Linked DNA regions of Homo sapiens: regions 1 and 2 are each linked to region 3. The links are contacts of gene promoters, found by promoter capture Hi-C in blood cells and fetal thymus (Javierre and others, 2016). All regions are on one chromosome and are shown on one strand. Each heading gives the region's core, a stretch centred on a gene start or on the middle of the fragment in contact. The rest is flanking DNA. Distances are from core to core; before and after follow the strand shown. Region 1 overlaps PEF1 (penta-EF-hand domain containing 1). Region 2 overlaps PUM1 (pumilio RNA binding family member 1). Region 3 holds the start of ZBTB8OS (zinc finger and BTB domain containing 8 opposite strand).

Evidence for each region. Contacts are between HindIII fragments. The CHiCAGO score rates a contact against its expected background, and 5 or more counts as called.
Region 1: a fragment that was not itself captured here is called in contact with the fragment with the promoter of ZBTB8OS in region 3 in 1 of 17 cell types (naive CD4 T cells); the score reaches 7.1 in naive CD4 T cells.
Region 2: a fragment that was not itself captured here is called in contact with the fragment with the promoter of ZBTB8OS in region 3 in 4 of 17 cell types (naive CD4 T cells, fetal thymus, total CD8 T cells and 1 more); the score reaches 9.0 in naive CD4 T cells.

The regions. Positions count from the first base shown.
Region 1 is chr1:31,637,162-31,641,671 of GRCh38, forward strand. All of the region lies in intron 1 of PEF1 (penta-EF-hand domain containing 1), which reads right to left. Among named protein-coding and RNA genes, the nearest start is that of PEF1-AS1, 4.7 kb to the right of the region's middle. The HindIII fragment of the contact is 1,755 bases long and covers 1,905-3,659 here.
Region 2 is chr1:31,060,406-31,065,287 of GRCh38, forward strand. All of the region lies in intron 1 of PUM1 (pumilio RNA binding family member 1), which reads right to left. Among named protein-coding and RNA genes, the nearest start is that of PUM1, 2.9 kb to the right of the region's middle. The HindIII fragment of the contact is 2,445 bases long and covers 1,734-4,178 here.
Region 3 is chr1:32,647,150-32,651,799 of GRCh38, forward strand. ZBTB8OS (zinc finger and BTB domain containing 8 opposite strand) reads right to left here and starts at 3,401. Exons shown (of 7, transcript NM_178547.5): 1 at 3,284-3,401. The coding sequence starts at 3,380. It overlaps RBBP4 (RB binding protein 4, chromatin remodeling factor), which reads left to right and starts at 4,059. Exons shown (of 12, transcript NM_005610.3): 1 at 4,059-4,173. The coding sequence starts at 4,158. RefSeq lists silencers at 412-481, 3,738-4,307 and enhancers at 1,998-2,137, 3,271-3,858, 3,859-4,447, 4,608-4,650. The HindIII fragment of the contact is 3,350 bases long and covers 407-3,756 here.

The DNA of each region.
Region 1 (4,510 bases), core at 1,532-4,031, 1.0 Mb before region 3:
GCCCTGTCACCCACTCAGCAATCCTTGGGAGCTTTTCTACCCTAGAAGCTGTCATAGCTACTAGCAAGACTCCTTCACAGACAAGAATGGCTCACACAGATCTCAATTTAAAACTCTGCTCCCATCAGCTAAGTTCATGACTGTGGGCCCGTGGCTTCATCTCTCTGAGCCTGCTTCCTCACAAATAGAACAATTCCTTCCTCACTGGACTGTTCTGCAGATTATAAAAAATAAATGCAGCAAAATTCTGTCAGTTTAATTTTTAGCTAAAGAATCCTTTGATAACCAACCTGGGCAACATAGTAAGATCCCACCTCTACAAAAAATTTTTAAAAATCAGCCGGGCATGGTGGTACACATGTAGTCCCTGCTACTCGGGAGGCTAAAGCGGAAGGATCACTTGAGCCTAAGTTGGAGGCTGCAGTGAGCTGTGATTGTGCCACAACACTCCAGCCTGAGTAACAGAGGGAGACCCTGTCTCCAAAAAAAAAAAAAAAAAAAAAAAAGAGAGAGAGAAAGAAAGAATCCTTTGATAAAATAAATAAAACAAATACAAGAAAGTTGCTCTGGCTGAAGTAAGGTGGGAGCTCCAGAGCCCCTACAATATGGAACCCCCTCCCTTGCTACATTCTGAGGGGGCTCTGAAAACCCCTCACAGTGACTGAAAAGACAGTCTGAAAACCACTCACATAAGAAAAATAGTTTTTACAACAGTGCCTGGCATAAAGCAAATGATCAGTAAGTCATAGCTGCTATTGCTATATTAATTACTGTTATCAGCAAAGTCCTGGGCCAGGTGAACTGTGCGGGGTGGGGTATAAAGGAGAGTGAAGCAATCTGAAGGCACTCACAGTTAACAAGACTTAACATGTAGACACTGTGTAACGTCTAACAAAACAGCATAAGGAAAACAGGTGTTTGAAATGGAGACATAAGTCATGTGCCATAGGACTGCAAAGGAAGGAGGGTAAAATCAGGGAGTGTTTCCATGAGAGTGGCATTTGAGCTAGGACTTAGAGAACGAACAGGATTCCCAAGGGGTTGGAGAGGTGTGACAAGAGAAATACCCAGAAGACAAGTCACTTAACCTAACCCCCATTTTACAGATGGGGGAGGGAGGGAGGGACTTGCCCAAGTAATGCTGTGAGCTGGAGGAAGAGACAAGGCTGGACCACTCCCTTGCACCCAATGACTCCCCCTGCCTCCTGCTACAACACTCCTTCATTAAGCAATAGGGCTCAGGATTCCAGCATAGGATGGAAAGGGAGTGGGAACTCTGCAGAATCTGGGCACACCCAAAGAACAGGCCAGACACGAAGCCAGAAGTAGCTGCCCCACTATAAGCCCTGTGAGCAAAGCTATAAACCGCACCTGGCACCTAGGAAAACCCACCTAGGAAACCACCTATAAACCACCTAGGAAACATCCCCAGGCCAACAAAGCAGGTGCTGCCAGGCAGGTCTCCTGCCCTTCTGGCTATTGTAGTCTGGCAGCAATTAAACCCTTTCCTTTCTGTCCTGCATTTGAAGACCTCCTCTGTAGTTTACAAAGTACTTTCACAAACACAAACACTACAGGCAGAATCTTGCCAATGGCCTCCTAACAGAAAAAAGGAAGATGTTAGTTGCCCTCTTTTACAGATGAAGAAACTAAGCCACGGAGCTGTTAAAGGACTTCATTCAGCACGCATTTTCAGAGTGACAATATTGTACTAGGCTCTGTAGTAGATCTGAGGACACAAGTAAATGAAGTCCTGCCCTTAAGGGGCCCACAGATAATTGTGATACAATCTGATCAGTGCCATCAGAAAAATCTACTTATGTGCTATCAAGGAAGCTTAGATGGAGGAATTTGTGCTGTTTGCAGAATGAATAAATGAACAATGTATGAAGTGGGTCAAGGAAAGCTTCCTGGAGGAAGTGGCAGTGATATTGGAAATGGTCCTTGAAGGATGCATAGACATTTTCCAAAAGGCAGGCAGGGAAGGACACTCCAGACAGAAGAGAGAAGAAAGACAAACGCACAGACTTAAGAGTGAGCATAGTGCATTCAGGGAATGAGTTAAACCGCAGAGCCAAGAATGCAGTGTGAACCCAGAAAGGCAGGCCCTCTATACACTCGTTGACCAAGCACCTCTCCCCCTGCATTTCAGTTAGCCGTGAGGTATCAGTGTCTAAGAGTAGTTTCTGTCTAGCATCTCCCCCACCCAACAGTAAGCTCCCCAGGGGCAGACACTGCGCCTCACTCATCATGGCACCCCAGGGCCCAGCACAGTGCCTGGCACCTGCAAGCCTCCACAAATATTTGGACAAATGAACACCACTCTAAAGAGTTTTGTTGGGGCTTTATGCCGGAGAAAACAGAGCACTATAGAAGGGTTTCCAATAGGAGAGGAACGTGATGAGAACCTTGTTTAGAGAAGTAACCAGCGGCGGTGTGGAGGATGAGCCAGTGAGGGAGGCAGTAGCCCAGGTGCTGGGCAGGCAGGGCATGAACCAGACAGCACACTTGGGGATGAAGAGAACGGAATGGATTCTGAAGCTATTTCAGAGATAGACCAGACATGACTTGGTGACTAATTAGATTAGGAAAGAGATGGAGGAGGAGTGAGGAAAGTGTTCAGAATGACTCGGGTTTCTAGCTTTTGCACAAGATGAAGGAGGTGGAGCCAACTGAGACAGAATGCAGGCTGCACAGGAAGTTTGGGGAAGAAGATGAGGTGGTCCCCACCTCACAGAGGGTCACCCAGTGTCACTGAGTTGTTAGCAAAGGTCTGAACCAGAAATGAAAAACAGCATCCCTGACTCCACGTTCTTTTACACTACTCCATGCTCCCAGCCCTTTTTAGAGTTTTTCCAAGAGTTATTTCATACTGATAAACAGGATTGTGAAGGCAGGTGGAGGGGAAGGACAGGAAGAGTTCAGTAACTGCAGCTTCTGAAGCAACACAGAAAAACTATCTCTAGGGCTCTGGCTGATTGCAAATAAGCTACATCTGATGCCCTGGGGGGACTGGGGGCAACAAACATTTACTGAGGCTCTGCTAGGTGCTTCCAGTTCAACCAGCTCTCACTAATCCTCAGTCCTGTGAGGTAAACAGTGTCATCTCCATTTTGCAGATGAGAAAATTAAGGGGCAGAGAGTTTAATAACATGCCTGAGATCATGCAGCTAGAATGGGCAAGTTGGGATTCAAGTCAGGGTCTGCATGACTCTACACTACCCCCTTCTGTTTGTTCACTCAATAAATGAGTGAGTGCCTAGCATGTGTCTGTGTGAGGGACTGTGCTAAATGTCTTTGTCAAATATAATGAATTTCTACTGTGGACAGAGGTAGAGGGGAAGGCTGGATTGGGTGATCTCTCAGAGCCTTCAAGCCCAGAAATCAGGGACTCTTAGAAAAATCTCATTCTTTTTCGTCCCAGCACCTAGAGTCACTTTGAGAGCCAAGCCACATTTTGGAAGACACCCCAAAGACTCTTCAGTTCAACCTCTCAGTTAATAATGGAATCTCTGCAGAACCACCTGGAATCTCTACCTGCACTTGCGCAAGCAGTAGGGAGCTTACCTCCTCCCAAATAACCACCTCAGAAAGTCCGGTATTTTTTTTTTCTTTCCAGTTCTGAGGACTCAAGTCTTCTAACCTCAAGACCCCTGTGAAGCTTAAAGGTATCAACGGCTGTTCCAAGCTGAGCCCTGATGACGAATGGAGGAGGGAGCATTGCAAAGACAAGTTTGTACCCCAGAGCTACCCTTCAAGTGCACAGGAGGAGGTGGGAAGCCCAAACTAAGGGGTTAAACAATCACAGGAAGACAAGAGGAACAGTTCAAGCATTCACCAGCAGAGCCACTTGAAATAGGAGAGAAGCACGCAACCAATAAACAATGAGCCAAGAACCATCCCCAGACTTCAATTACCTCTGTGCTCACACTTTCAAATCTTTCCAGCTTCATCACTCCTGAGCTACAGACCCACATATCCAGCAGCCTACTGGACCTTCCCTCCAAACCCATGCCTCCCTGTGTTCTCATCTCAGTGAATGGAGCTCCGTTCTGCTTAATCATCCAAACCTAAGGCCAAGTTTTCTCAAATCTACCTCCCAAGTGCTTCTCAAATCTCCTCTACCAGGTCACAGTTCTCTTTAGCCTAGATTACCTCAATAGCGTCAAAACCGGTATCCCTGCCTCCTGTCTCTCCTGCTTCAATCCATTCTCACAGCACCCCACAGTAAGCACTCCAAAGCACAAATGGGACAAAACACTTCACTGGCTCCCTCACTACTCTTAGGATGAAGTCACACTCCCCAAAAAGGCATACAAGGCCCTTTGGGATCTGGCCCTTGCTTACCTTTCTAGTCTTATTTCCTACCCCTTTCCCCCACATCACTACAACTACACTGAACTTCTTAAAGTTCCTCCAAAATACTAGGCTGTCTTACCTGCTTCATGGGCTTTGTGCAGCTATTTCCTCTGCTGGAATAGCATTCCTTTCTTCACTCAGCTAATTTCTA
Region 2 (4,882 bases), core at 1,706-4,205, 1.6 Mb before region 3:
AGCCGAGATCATGCCACTGTACTCCAACCTGGGTGACAGAGCGAGACTCTCTCTCAAAAAATCAATCAATCAATCAATCACAACTTTACAGCTGGAGCAGACATATGCTAATAACTAAACAAAAGCCTAAACCCATATATAAGTAGCAATGGCTCAGATTGTGTAATTTGAAAGGATCCCTTAAAGTGTCCAACATATTGGCCAGGCGAGGTGGCTCACGCCTATAATCCCAACACTTCGGAGGCCAAGGCAGGTGTATCACTTGAGGTCAGGAGTTCGAGACCAGCCTGGCCAACATTATGAAACCCCATCTCTACTGGAAATACAAAAATTAACTGGGTGTGGTGGTACACACTTTTAATCCCAACTACTTGGGAAGCTGAGGCAGGAGAATCGTTTGAACCCGGGAGGCAGAGGTTGCAGTGAGCCAAGATCGCACCACTGCACTCCAGCCTGGGCGACAAATCGAGACTCTGTTTCAGTAAAAAAAAAAAAAATAATAAATAAATAAATAAATAAAACCTCCAATATATTGATAGGATATTTCTTAAAGAAACAATAAAACCCTCTGACCAAGAACAGCAGCAGAATGCTTTTAGCCTAAGCCCTCTCCTCAGTTGTCACTGATTTTTAAAAGCATTAATATTTTTACCAGTAACTTACAACTATTAACTGTAATCACATTATGCCATTAGTACTTCAACTACTATAAACAGGATGAGACCAAACCAAATTTAAACACTTCATATTAGTGTAGAAAGCCTCACTACAGGCTGGGCACAGTGGCTCACTCCTGTCATCCCAGCACCTTCGGAGACTTAGGCAGGGAGAATCGCTTGAGCCAGGAGCTGAAGACCAGCCTAGGCAACACAGTGAGACCCCCATCTCTATTATTTTATTAAAAAATAAGGCTCTAAGAAGGCCAATGGAGGTTGGGCACGGTGGCTCATGCCTGTAATCCCAGCACTTTGGGAGGCCGAGGCGGGTGGATCATGAGGTCAGGAGATCAAGACCATCCTGGCTAACATGGTGAAACCCCGACTCTACTGAAAACACAGAAATTAGCCAGGCTTGGTGGCACGCGCCTGTAATCCCAGCTACTTGGGAGGCTGAGGCAGGAGAATCACTTGAACCAGGGAGGCAGAGGTCGCACCACTGTGCTCCAGCCGGGCGACAGAGCGAGACTCTGTCTCAAAATAAATAAATAAATAAAATAATTTTTTTAAATTATAAAAAAAAAAGAAAGCCTCACTATACAAACCAGAAGCCTCAGTTGGGTGTGGTGGCTCATACCTACAATCCCAGCACTTTGGGAGGCTGAGGTGGGCAGACAGCTTGAGCCCAGGAGTTCAAGACCAGCCTGGGCAACATAGCAAGACCTATCTCTACTAAAAATAATTAGCCAGGCATGGTGGCATGTGCCTATAGTCCCAGCTACTAGGGAGGCTGAGGTGGGAGGATCATTTGAGCCCAGGAGCGGGAGGCTGCACACCCGCTTGGGCGACAGAGTGAGTTCCTGTCTCAAAAACAAACAAACAAACAGAAGCTTCAACACGGTAATAGTGTAATGAATATATCGCAGACATTGTCTCATCACAAAAGCATTGAAAGGTAGCCATTATTATTTCTATTTTACAAATGAAAACACTAAGGTACAGGAGGAAAATGGGATGTTTCCAAGGCCATTCAACTAGCAAGTAGCAGAGAAAGGATTCAAACCCTAATCGTTCCCAAGCTTACTTCTTTCTACTAACCCCTTGCAGGAGTAACTCAACAATATGTCTCATTTGTATCCTCTACTCCTCTGGAAGACCAACAAAGAATCCCTCAAATGTTACTATGAAACACTAAAGTTCCTTAAAACCAAAAACTGCATCTGTACTTAAGATAGAACACTTGCCAGCCTGTGGGTGCTTTTAAAAAATGCTACAAAGTGTCCGGACACGGTGGCTTACGCCTGTAATCCCAGCACTTTGGGAGGCGGAGGCAGGCGCATCTCCAGGTCAGAATTCCAGACCAGCCTGGCCAATATACTGAAACCCCGTCTCTACTAAAAATATAAAAAGTAGCCAGGTGTGGTGGCACGCACCTGTAGTCCCAGCTACTCGGGAGACTGAGGCAGAAGAATCGCTTGAACCCAGGAGGCGGAGGTTGCAGTGAGCCGAGATCAAGGCACTGCACTCCAGCCTGGACGACAGAGTGAGACTCCATCTCAAAAAAAAAAAAAAAAAGCTACAAAGTAAATAAATCAGTTACCAATTAGGACACACCTGTCCACAGCCACGGTCTAATTTCAAAGCCATCGGCCTAACAGTCTACTGCTACAAATGCTTTATCTCTTCTCCCAACCCCCACTGTGATGCTTCAAAAACACATGAATAACAAATCTACTATCTCTCTGTTGAATAAATAAACCTTCTGATAAAGTAGCATTTGCTTCTCACAACTAAATTCATGTTTTTGAAGCCAGCCTAAGAAGACACAATGGAATTTGTAATTTGTTTAAAGCCTAATTTGGAAATGCCTAGTCTAGGTTAAGAATTCCAATCCATCAGAACCTTAGCAGGGTACTGGAGTAGTCTAACCTAGACACTAGTCCCTGCTCAAGTACCAAAACCAAAAAGTCATAGCCCGGTTTCACCATCGGTCTTTCAAAAGTGCAAACCAGCCTAATGCCTCCCTGCTTGGTTTTTTAAAGAATTCATTACTCTCTTAGTACTAATACTAGACAGTCCCATTCTGTTCTAAAAGGAAATCTCGACCTAACAATCTTTGTTCTAGAGCAGGCCAAGAGTTCCAAAACCCAAGTTCTTTCACTAAACAAAACTACCTGTTTCCTCATCTAGAAAATGAAAGAAATCCTTCCTCTATGACTCTCAATGTTTTGGGTTTTTCTTAATGAAAATGAGATAAATATAAAAGTTTTTGGTAAATTTAAAGTCATCGTGCTTAAGACTCTTAGAATTTAGTTACCCCTAGTTAAGGCAACTCCAGTCCCTAACAGAATTCCTAAAACAGCAAATGCAATCTTTTCTGAAATAAAAGCCTTCTCAAAATAGTTATCTAGGAGGCTGAGAGAAGGATAATGAGAGATTACCTAAGGAGGACAATGTACGTTATTCCAGTGATGGACACACAAAAAGCCCTGGCTTCACCACTACGCAATACACGCATGTACAAATTACACTTGTACCTCACAAATTATACAAATAAAAATTTTTAAAAGAAAAAAGTTATCTAACAAAGAATATCCACATAAAAGAGGAGTTTATCACTGACGCACACTAAACACACCTTCATTCTAAAAGGAATGGGGGAAAGAAAAGACTCCTATAAAAATGTTCAAACGAAACAATTGGCTTTTGTAAAGCTATCTGTATGCCCTAAGACTTCCTGCTTTACCTAAAGAGGCAAGGCAGTTTCTCAAACCAGAGAAAACCTGGCAGAACAGTTTCAAAGTGAGCAAATACCTAAGCAATTAACATGTTATCTTGGGTAGTTTTGTGGTATTTTGGCAAATACGGCACAAAAATTAAAAACTCAGTATCCTAAATATCAGAAAAGCTCACTAATACGTGTAGCATTTAAAATGTGATTTTTTTACAAATGACACCTTATAAGTACTTTAAGCAACTAGAAGTGCTCAGTCCAGCTACTCTTTCACAGCTTTCAAATGTTTACAAAGTTTTTTAAAATATCACTAATTGAGTTGAATTCAAAGGAACACGGTTTACTTTATTTCCATGGCTCACCTTTTACTAAAATGCTTAGTGGTTTAAAAGGTGTTTATTTTTACCACACTTAACAAACATTCTGTGGTCATAAATTTATCTTAAAACAGTTCATTTTAAACCTAAACTAAACAAATTCCAACTTCAAAAAGCTGTGGCCTTGAACAAAATGAATTCAATTGTCGCTAAAGCAAAACACTAACTCAAAGTTCAGAATCCGGAGAGCGTTTCCCAAGAGCCCAGATAAAGAATCAACAGCCCCCCAGTGTTTTATAAAGTTAAAATTAGCAAAGGGTCAAAATGTTTATTTTGCTTACGAAAACTGCATCGGAAGCCACATTTCTTGGGGTTGGGCCTGTCTTAGTAAGTTTTTAGGTGCTTTCAAGAAACAAAATGCTAAGCCTATTGTTTCAGAAGTTAACTGACTTTAAAACAGAACCCAGGAAAAGCTTCATAAAATCTTATTCTTAATTAATCCCAGTAATAACAGGAATTGAGCAAAATGGTATCGAGGGCTGAGAACAGTGTTTTCTTAATTGAACAATAAAAGGTAACAATCTAAGTTACGGGAGAATAAAGCCTTCTCTGGTAATGCTGTGTGTGGGTTTCTGGCTTTGTTTTTTCAGCGGGGGGGGGGGGGGGGGCTATAGGAGGGAAAAGTTACAGGAGTGTATTCCTCACTTGACGTGGGAATGGTACTGACAAGTAAAACAAATGATCTATGTTTACCAAGCATGTTTGTGAGGACTAAAACTAGTATTGTGTATCTAGATTTTCCTACTAGCAAGGGGTGAACCCCTCTTTGAGTGAAGAGAGACACCAACACCGGGAGGCTCAAAAAGGAAGAACCCACCAAAAACACAAGCTCACACGGAAACAAAAGGCCACAGCAACCCAGGAGCCTAAAAAGCATTCTGAAACTTCCTGATCGCCACTTCTCCACATTTAAGGCTCGCAAAGTTCCCCCACGGTGAATCTCGCCTGTGGACAAGGGCCACGGCTGCTTCTAAAGCGATTTATTGTTCCTCCTCCTCCGGCGCTGCCACGGAAGCTCAAGAAGTCGAAGAAATCGGGGTGGCACAGAATTACACTTCATGGCCACACAGAAGACTCGGGGCTTCGCAAACCCATCAAAAAAAGCAACCCGAATG
Region 3 (4,650 bases), core at 2,151-4,650:
TTCGAGATTGGAAGTTCGAGACCACCCTGACCAACATGGAGAAACCCCATCTCTACTAAAAATACAAAATTAGCCAGGCACGGTGGTGCATACCTGTAATCCCAGCTACTCTGTCTCAAAAAAAAAAAAAAAAAAAAATTAGCCAGGTGTGGTGGTGCATGTCTGTAGTCCCAGCTACTCAGGAGGCTGAGGCAGAAGAATTACTTGAACCTGGGGGGCAGAGGTTGCAGTGACTGGAGATCATGCCACTGTACTCCAACCTGGATGACAAAGCGAGACTCTGTCTCAAAAAAAAAAAAAAAAGAAAAGAAAGAAAGGGTCAATGCAGGGGGTCCCCAACCCCCTGGCCAGTACCAGTTGGTGGCCTGTTAGGAACCAGGCAGCACAGCAGGACATGAGCTCACAAAGCTTCTTCTATATTTACAACAGCTCCCCATTGCTAACATTACTGCCTGAGCTCCACTTCCTTTCAGATCAGGCACAGCATTAGATTCTCATAGGAGCTTGAACACTATTGTGAACTGCACATTGAGGGATCTAGGCTGTGTGCTCCTTATGAGAATCTAAAGCCTGATGATCTGTCATCCCCAGATGGGACCATCTAGTTACAAGAAAACAAGTTCAGGGCTCCCACTGATTCTATATTACAGTGAGTTGTATAATTATTTCATTATATATTACAACGTAATAATAATAGAAATAAAATGCACAATAAATGTAATGCGCTTGAATCATCCTGAAACCATCCTCCCCTACAACCCCCGTTGGTGGAAAAACTGACTTCCGTGAAACCAGTCCCTAGTGCCAAAAAGGTTGGGGACCGCTGGTTAATGAACTGCATTGCATAAAAACACTTTCTGCCTAGTAAGAAAAACCAACAACCCAAGACAAAAAAAAAATAACCCAAGAGAAAAAAGGGCTAAGAATATTAACATACACACCCCAGAATGGGAAATACAAATAGCTTCCAAAACAGTATAATATGTTCAACTTCACTTACAATAAGAAAAATACAGTAAGTATACTTTACAAATTAGAAAAGATAAAAAAGTATGGTAACAATTAGTAGAAGTGGGAGGAAAGAGGCACATTCACACAATACTAGTGAAAGTATAAATTGGTACAACTCCTATAGAGAGCAATTTGGCAATAACTGTCCAAGTTAAAATATCCTTTTAAAAAATGTAGGAGTCTTAGCAATGGAAACAAAAAAAACTTGGAGAACTTGATTCTACAGATTCACTTGCACATGTACAAAACAGTGGATGTACAAGTGTATTCACTGCTGCACTGTTTCTAATACCACAAGAGTAGAAATAGCCTAAACGTCCATCAACTGAAAATTGGTTAAAGCAAATGCTAGAACATCTAGGTATGTACATGTAAGAAAAAGGTAACGATGACTGCTCTACAGAGGGGGACTAGGTAGTTGAGGATGGGGGCTGCCAGAGTTACTTTTCACTGCCTATGTTACACTTTCTGAATTTCAAATCAATATATATGACCTATTAAAAATAATTTTTTTTTGAGATGGAGTCTGGCTCTGTCGCCCAGGCTGGAGTGCAGTGGTGCAATCTCGGCTCACTGCAACCTCCGCCTCCCAGGTTCAAGCGATTCTCCTGCCTCAGCCGCCCAAGCAGCTGGGATTACAGGCACCCACCACCATGCCTAGCTAATTTTTGTATTTTTAGTAGAGATGGGGTTTCACCATGTTGGCCAGGCCAGGCTGATCTCAAGCTCCTGACCTCAGGTGATCCACCCGCCTCAACCTCCCAAAGTGCTGGGATTACAGGCGTGAGCCACAGCACCAGGCCTTTTTTTTTTTTTTTTTTTTTTTGAGACAGTCTCACTCTGTTGCCCAGGCTGGAGTGCAGTGGTGTGATCTCGGCTCACTGCAGCCTCCACCCTCCTGGGTTCAAGCAATTCTCCTGCCTCAGCCTCCCGAGTAGCTGGGATTACAGGCGCCCACCATCATGCGCAGCTAATTTTTGTATTTTTAGTAGAGACGGGGTTTCACCATGTTGGCCAGGCTGGTCTGGAACTCCTGACCTCAGGTGATCCACCCACGTCAGTCTCGCAAAGTGCTGGGATTATAAGTGTGAGCCACCGCAAACGGCCTATAATATTTTAAAATTGTTTTTAAGTGAGAGAAGGGGATATGCTAGGAGGTATGCCAGCTCCAGAAAGCACATTGCCTAGAATACTATGGTAAATAAGTAGATTTTACAGAGAGGACAATGAGAAATTAATGAAAGATTTTAAGCAGATAAATAAAAGTCAGATTTGTGCTCCCCAAACCACAGCTACCTTTAGGGATGACAGCTTAACGTTTAATATAGAATTTAAGAGACAAAGATAGGTTATGTGATTTGCCTAAAGTCACTAAGCGAATAAATGGCAAAACCAGCTGGGCACTGCAGCGCGGGCTATGATCGCTCCATTGCACTCCAGCCTGGACGACAGAGCGAGACCCCATCTCTAAAAACACACACACACACACACACACACACACACACACATTTTTTTTTTTTTTTGAGACAGAGTTTCGCTCGTTGCCCAGGCTGGAGTGCAATGGGGCGATCTCGGCTCACCGCAACCTCCGCCTCCCGGGTTCAAGCGATTCTCCTGCCTCAGTCTCCCGAGTAGCTGGGATTACAGACATGCTCCACCACGCCCAGCTAATTTTGTATTTTTAGTAGAGACGGGGTTTTTCCATGTTGGTCAGGCTGATCTCGAACTTCCGACCTCAGGTGATCCGCCCGCCTCGGCCTCCCAAAGTGCTGGGATCACAGGCCTCAGCCACCGAGCCCGGCCTAAAATAATCATTTTTAAAAATCACAATCATAAATGGCAAAACCAGGTTTTTTGCTAATATGATCGAGGTGAAACATCAAGTTAGAAATCCCCTAATTAGCTTTCCGAGTCCTCTAACCTCGCACACTCTAATCTCACCGTTGGGAAATACATGGGGGTAACAACCCTGCAAACGCCTGAAAATATGGTTATCTTTAGAATTTACGAAGATAAATGTGATTAGGCACATGTGGAAGAAGTTCAAGAGACTGTAAATGAGGGAGGCCAGGTTTCGCGACTATTAAACCAGGTGGCTTTTTCCTTCAGCATCCCCAGGAGAAGTACGAACGCGACTACAACAGCCGGCACAAATGGGATCATGCCTGAAGTACCCATGGGGCACAGTAGAAAGAGCAGCAGGAAGCCGCGGGTAAGGAGAGGGGATGCCTGTGTGCTTACATGTAAAGAGAGAAGTAAGCCACCTACTCACACTCGTACTTCCTATTGACTGGCGGATACTTGGCCTTGATCGCCTTCTGTTCTTCAGTCAAATTGTAATCTCTAACATCTTCCTCTTCCTGCGCCATGACTGCAGGATTAGACACTCTACTTCCGCCCTTCATCCACCGGACTTCGGCCCGGAGTTACTACTTCCGCTCTAGACTCCGCCCCTTGGCGCACACCCTTAAAGGACCACACTCCTTTCTCGGAGTTGGCTGTTGACCTACTTTAGTCCCTACCCTGCCGCTTGGATCGCATATTTAAAAAGCCAAAACCCCATCTTCTGCGATTCCTTCATTACTAGTTCTTTCCAAAGACTAAGGAAAAACGTTGAAGGGCACCTTGAATGAAACCCGTCTGGGTCTGACTGGCGAGGTTCTTTCCCCCGCTTCACCCCCAAAATTGATAACTAGACCCGAAGGCATTCTAGATTTTTCATCTCAGTACTCTGAAAGGGTCGTAAGCTTAATAGCCTTCAAGAAAATGGCTGCCCTCTTGCCGCGGGAGTGTGCGGACCAAACCTCTCTCACGTGACCCTGACCGGGCGCAGTCCCGTCAACGCCGGCGCGCGCAATCGCTGGAAGTCGGCTCGGGGAGGCGTGGGGGGAGGGGCGGAGCGCGCGCCTCGGTCCCCGCGGAAAGCTACTCCGCGCGTCTGGATTGGTCGCGAACGCGGCTTCCCCGCCCATCCCGCCATTAGGAGCGCTCCCATTGGCTGATGTTGGCGCGAAGGTGCGCGAGTCAGCCCTCGCGCTGGGGGCGCAGGAAACAATAGAGGCCGCGCGCACAGAGCGAGCTCTTGCAGCCTCCCCGCCCCTCCCGCAACGCTCGACCCCAGGATTCCCCCGGCTCGCCTGCCCGCCATGGCCGACAAGGAAGGTGAGGGTGCCGGGGCCGACCCAGGAGGGCAGTGGGTGCCTGGGCTGAGCCGCGGCCTCGACATGGCCTAACAGTGAGGGCAGGCCCGAGTTTGCCGAGTGCAGTCCCCGGTACTGAAGGCGTGAAGAGGGAACTCCCCGCGGGGCGTGCTAACGGCTCGCCAGTTCCCTGGGACCGATTTCGGTCGCAGCTGGCGAAGCCAGCGGTGGGGCCCCCGGCCAGTGTTTGTTTCTCTTCCTGCCTCCGATATCGGTTTCTCGGCCTCTGTCCCGAGCGTGGGGACACCGCTTCCTACCCACAAGGCTCGGAGCTCGGGCCTCCTCGTCGGGCTTGTGAGTTTCGGCGCGCACGAGCGTGCTCCGAAGGCCTGGCTGGCCCCTTGGCCTGGAACGGGTAACGGAGTGTTTGGCGGGGATGGCCCGAGGAGTTTCGGCGCCGCGAAAGTGGAGAGTGTGGATGCCTCTGCCGTGGGGATTT